Regions from separate parts of the Homo sapiens genome. Here region 1 is linked to region 2. The links are contacts of gene promoters, found by promoter capture Hi-C in blood cells and fetal thymus (Javierre and others, 2016). All regions are on one chromosome and are shown on one strand. The core of a region is centred on a gene start or on the middle of the fragment in contact, and the rest is flanking DNA. Distances in the headings are between cores, read along the strand shown.

Region 1 (2,809 bases), core at 182-2,681, 550 kb before region 2:
CAGCTACTCAGGAGGCTGAGGCAGGAGAATCGCCTGAACCCAGGAGGCGGAGGTTGCAGTGAACTGAGACGGTGCCACTGCACTCTAGCCTGGGCGATAGAGTGGGACTCCGTCTCCAAAAAAAAAAAAAAAAACAAAAAACAAAAAACCGGGCACGGTGGCTCACGCCTGTAATCCCAGCACTTTGGGAGTCCAGGGTGGGCGGATCATGGGGTCAGTAGATGGAGACTATCCTGGCTAACATGGTGAAACCCCGTCTCTACTAAGAAATACAAAAAAATTAGCTGGGCGTGGTGGTATGCACCTGTAGTCCCAGCTACTCGGGAGGCTGAGGTAGGAGAATGGCGTGAACCCGGGAGGCGGAGCTTGCAGTGAGCCGAGATCGCGCCACTGCACTCCAGCCTGGGCGACAGAGCGAGACTCTGTCTCAAAAAAAAAAAAAAAAAGAAGTGTAATAAAGCTTCATAGATTTATCATCCAGACTAAATTATCAGTATTTTACCATGTTTTCTTTTTTTTTTTTGAGAGAGTCTCGCTCTGTCGCCCAGGCTAGAGTGCAGTGGCATGATCTCGGCTCACTGCAAGCTCCACCTCCCAGGTTCAAGCGATTCTCCTGCCTCAGCCTCCCAGGTAGCTGGAACTACAGGCACCCGCCACCATGCCTGGCTAATTTTTGTATTTTTAGTAGAGACGGGGTTTCACCACATTGGTCAGGTTGGTCTCAAACTCCTGACCTTGTGATACGCCCGCCTCGGCCTCCCAAAGTGCTGGGATTACAGGCATGAGCCACTGCGCCCGGCCTTTACCATACTTTTAAGTGAAACTTTGATTCCCTAAATTTGAGTCTCATGTATTTTGTTCCTTTTTAAATTTTTTGGGAAATGCAATGGAAGACTAGATAGGAGAACAGCAAAAGTTTAAAGTCATTTATGGGGGTAGGATTTGTTTTTTAACTGTTCTTTTTTTTTTTTAAGCTCTAGCCAAGAGCTTAGAAGATGCTCTGAGGCAAACTGCAAGTGTCACTCTGCAGGCTATTGCAGCTCAGAATGCTGCGGTCCAGGCTGTCAATGCACACTCCAACATATTGAAAGCCGCCATGGACAATTCTGAGGTGAGCCCAATGAATGATTAGAAGTGTTCTGGCTGTCATGACTTGGAGGACAAAAAGAAAAATCGAGGGTGGAGAGAAGTGTAATATTTAACAGACTGCTTTCTTCCGTATGATATCGGCTTTCTCTCACTAGGGGAAGATAGTCTGGAATAATTAATCTTTTTTTGTTATTGTTTTGAGACGGAGTCTTGCTCTGTCGCCCGGGCTGGAGTCCAGTGGTGCGATCTCGGCTCATTGCAACCTCCACCTCCCAGGTTCAAGCGATTCTCCTGCCTCAGCCTCCCGAGTAGCTGGGATTACAGGCTCCCGCCACCATACCCGGCTAATTTTTGTACTTTTAGTAGAGACAGGGTTTGCCATTTTGGCCAGGCTGGACTGGAACTCTTGACCTCAAGTGATTTGCCTGCCTCGGCCTCCCAAAATGTTGGGATTACAGGCGTGAGCCACTGTGCTTGGCCTTAGAGTAATTATGTTTAAAAAACAAACTGAAAAAAGCCTTTAAGTTTTTTAGAATGAATTTTATACATTGTGCTTTACTATATCTTACAACACCGATGCAGCGCAAGAATTAGTTCAGATTTGCTTTCATATTTTAATAGCACTTAAATATTTTTGTTGTTTGCTTTAAAATTGCTATTTCCATAGGTAAACTTTTTAAGATACTTCTCAAACTTCACATGCAGTTTTAAGAAATAATACAGAGAGCTCTCATGTTCCCTGAAACACCTGCTATTTTAAATGTTTATGATTATTTATGCGAAACACTTCAAAGAATGAAGTAATAACATTGATTTTTCAAAATTTAATACTGGGACTTAATACATTATTTTATAATTACATTAAGTTATTCAGTATGTATAAATGTATCTCTATTCCAAGTCATTTAAGGAGTAAATTAAAGTAAAATGCATAAATTATTAATCTTAAGGATCAGGATCATACATGGTCAGTAAAGTTACTTTGCCATCATAATTGTAGTTTTAAAAAAAATTTTACACACACTTTACATTGTTTCAGTCGTATGTACTTATATTACAAAAGAGTTTAATTAGACCTCTGATGTTAGTAGCAAGAAACTACAACCTTTGAAATTTTAAGGAAAATTCCATTTTATTCAAAGTCCAAGAAAAATACTTAAATATCAGAGTTCAGTCAGCAAAGTGGAAACCACCCAGGAAATTTAATTTGCTGGTTACCGATATGGGAAGGCTAGAAGTTGCGTGATGTAAGGGTGTTGGGTTCAAACCCAAGTAGACCAGTATCCCTCAGAAGGACACGGATTGGAAGCTTTAAATGCCATGTTACTACTTGGGTATAAGGGTACACAAGGTGGTATTTCATCTTCCTAACGCACATAATGTGTAGCACATGGTGATTAGACAGTGTAAAATCTATTGCAGTCAAGATTTTACAATCTAATGGTAGCAGTTAACAGATGAGAGTATTAGCTAATGTACAAAATAATTGGAAAAATGTATGAACACATTTTGGAATGTTAAGAATGAATTCCAGCTTTTGTTTTTTCTAGTACAAGAAGCTACAGGTGCACATGTAATTTCTAATATATACTGAATAACTTTCACAAAGCAGTGTTTGTGAAGAGTTGGATTTGGTAATACTAGGATTTAGTTTGGTTGTAGGGGAATCTGTGTCTGTTACAGGGTAGGTTTTCCTTGGACTTCTGTAAGCAGGAGTACC
Region 2 (2,700 bases), core at 58-2,557:
GCCCAGCTAATTTTTTGTATTTTTTTTTAGTAGAGACGGGGTTTCACCATTTTGGCCAGGCTAGTCTCGAACTCCTGACCTCTTGATCTGCCCGCCTGGGCCTCCCAAAGTGCTGGGATTACAGGCGTGAGCCACCACGCCCGGCTCTTTCTTTCTTTTTTAATGTATTTTTTTCTTGTAGAGACGATGTCTCGCTGTGTTGCCCAGGCTGGTCTCAAATTCCTCCCTCCAGCGATACTCCCACTTCGGCATCCCAAAGTTTTGGAATTACAGACATGAGCCACTGCATCCAGCCGTTTGTCCCTGTCCTAATCATGAATTCCTGATTTTGACTTTTGTAAAAGGACTTGAGAATTTTACACGCTGTGACGTGAACCCAGTGGTCAGAAAAAATAGAAAAAAAAAAAAAAGGGGCCGGGCACGGTGGCTCATGCCTGCAATCCCAACACTTTGGGAGGCCGAGGCAGGCGGATCACCTGAGGTCAGGAGTTCGAGACCAGCCTGGCCAACGTGGTGAAACCTTATCTCTACCAAAAATACAAAACTTAGCCGGGCGTGGTGGCACGCGCATGTAGTCCCAGCTACTCGGGAGGCTGAGGCAGGAGAATCGCTTGAACCCGGGAGGCGGAGGTTGCAGTGAGCCGAAATCACGCCAATGCACTCCAGCCTGAGCGACAGAGTGAGACTCCTTCTCAAAAAGAAAAAAAAAAGGAAAAATAAATAAAAAAGAAAATAATACACCCGTAGGTCCCTCAAAAACCCTGGGTCCTCCCGCGGGGACAGTTAAGCCATCGGCGCCGTGAGCAGGAGGCAAGCCGGGCCAGGAGAGCCTTCGCGGCGCCTGCGGCCTGGGCGCCGCTGTTGCCCTGCCTGAGCACTTCAAGGCCTCACAATCCATTTGAGGTAGGTGCTCTAGGTGTTCCCATTTACTAATGAGGAAACTGAGAAGTGGCAGCGTTACACAGTCAGCCAAAGTCACGCAGATGGCGATGGATTGCACAGCATCCTATTACCAGAAAAAAGATGGGAAGGCACCGCCGTAAGCATCGAGTTGTGTTATAGATGATTTGCATTTTTCTGAAGGTTCTGGTATCAGCTGTAAGCCGAAGTCCTTGTTTCCTATTGATATGTTACGAAAAAACAAACAAAAAAAAACAAAAACAAAAGCCCTCCGTCCGGGGGGTGGAAGTCAAGCATACCCTACTCCACCCGACCCGACCAGACCCGAAAACTCCGTGCGCTGCATCGCTTGGCCAGGCCGGGGCCTCCCAGACCGGAAGTCAGGATGCGGGGCCGGAAGCTGAGCAAGGGGCGGCGCGGAGCTCTGTGGGCGGGTGGCTGTTGTTGGGGCCGTCGAGGCGGCGGCGACTCTGCGTCCCCGGCTCCTGATGGAGGCGGGGCCGCATCCCCGGCCGGGGCACTGCTGCAAGCCTGGGGGGCGGCTGGACATGAACCACGGCTTCGTGCACCATATCCGACGGAACCAGATCGCTCGGTACCGCCCCGCCCTGCGCCGCCGCCGCCACCACTCCTGGCCTGGCCTGGCCCGGCCCGACAGTCCCTGACTCCCGCTCGGCTCCCCGCAGGGACGACTATGACAAGAAGGTGAAGCAGGCGGCCAAGGAGAAGGTGAGGAGGCGGCACACGCCCGCGCCGACGCGGCCCCGCAAGCCAGACCTGCAGGTGTACCTGCCGCGACACCGAGGTGAGGCCGCCCGCCCCGCCTGCCTCCAGCCCGCGCGCTCTTCCTGCAACGCACTCCCCTTCTCTATAGGGAAAAACCACTTCTTACTCCTAAGGTTCAGCTCATCTCGTCTCTTTCCGGAACCTCCACCTCAGCGCTCCCAAATCTCCGCTGAATGATTCTCACCAAGAACTGGGACGACTCATAAGCCCCCAGTTAAGCATCGCTGTCAGAGTATCGGGGAGCCAGCAAGAAGTTTATCTGCCGGTTTGCCCCACCGTGCTGTATTTTAGTAAGGTGCTCCGCTACCTAGCAAAGAGAAAGTCTGGCACAGCGATGAGCGACCAGCACATAATTGCGGAATGAACCCAGTAAATGGCCTTTCCCCAGCTTCTCTGCTACCTAGAGATCACACTGGTTAATATATGACGGTCAATTTTTGTTAAGCATTATTACTTTTTTTAAAATGTTTTTATTTTATTTTTGAGACTAGGTCTCTGTCGCCCAGGCTGGAGTGCAATGGTGCGATCTGGGCTTACTGCAGCCTTAGCCTCCCGAGTACCTGGGACCACAGGCGTGTGCCACCACACCGGTTAATTTTGGTATTTCTTGTAGAGAAGGGGTTTCCCCGGCTGGGCGCGGTGGCTCTCGCCTGTAATCCCAGCACTTTGGGAGGCCGAGGCGGGCGGATCACGAGGTCAGGAGATCGAGACCATCCTGGCTAACATGGTGAAACCCCCGTCTCTACTAAAAATACAAAAAATTAGCCGGGCGTGGTGGTGGGCGCCTGTAGTCCCAGCTACTCGGGAGGCTGAGGCAGGAGAATGGCGTGAACCCGGGAGGCGGAGCTTGCAGTGAGCCGAGATCGCGCCACTGCACTCCAGCCTGGGCAACACAGCAAGACTCGGTCTCAAAAAAAAAAAAAAAAGAGAGAGAGAGAAGGGGTTTCTCCACGTTGTCCAGGCTGATCTCGAACTCCTGAGCTCAGGTGATCTGCCCGCATCGGCCTCCCAAAG

The links. Contacts are between HindIII fragments. The CHiCAGO score rates a contact against its expected background, and 5 or more counts as called.
Region 1: a contact is called between a fragment that was not itself captured here and the fragment with the promoter of C2orf68 in region 2, in 2 of 17 cell types (erythroblasts and monocytes). The highest score is 5.9, in erythroblasts.

The regions. Positions count from the first base shown.
Region 1 is chr2:86,164,810-86,167,618 of GRCh38, reverse strand. It overlaps IMMT (inner membrane mitochondrial protein), which reads left to right. Exons shown (of 15, transcript NM_006839.3): 7 at 975-1,111. Among named protein-coding and RNA genes, the nearest start is that of MIR4779, 27 kb to the left of the region's middle. The HindIII fragment of the contact is 1,938 bases long and covers 463-2,400 here.
Region 2 is chr2:85,610,673-85,613,372 of GRCh38, reverse strand. C2orf68 (chromosome 2 open reading frame 68) reads left to right here and starts at 1,307. Exons shown (of 4, transcript NM_001013649.4): 1 at 1,307-1,495; 2 at 1,587-1,705. The coding sequence starts at 1,389. It also overlaps a transcript of USP39 not described here. RefSeq lists silencers at 807-979, 1,466-1,535, 1,155-1,536 and an enhancer at 966-1,195. The HindIII fragment of the contact is 26,854 bases long and covers 1-2,700 here.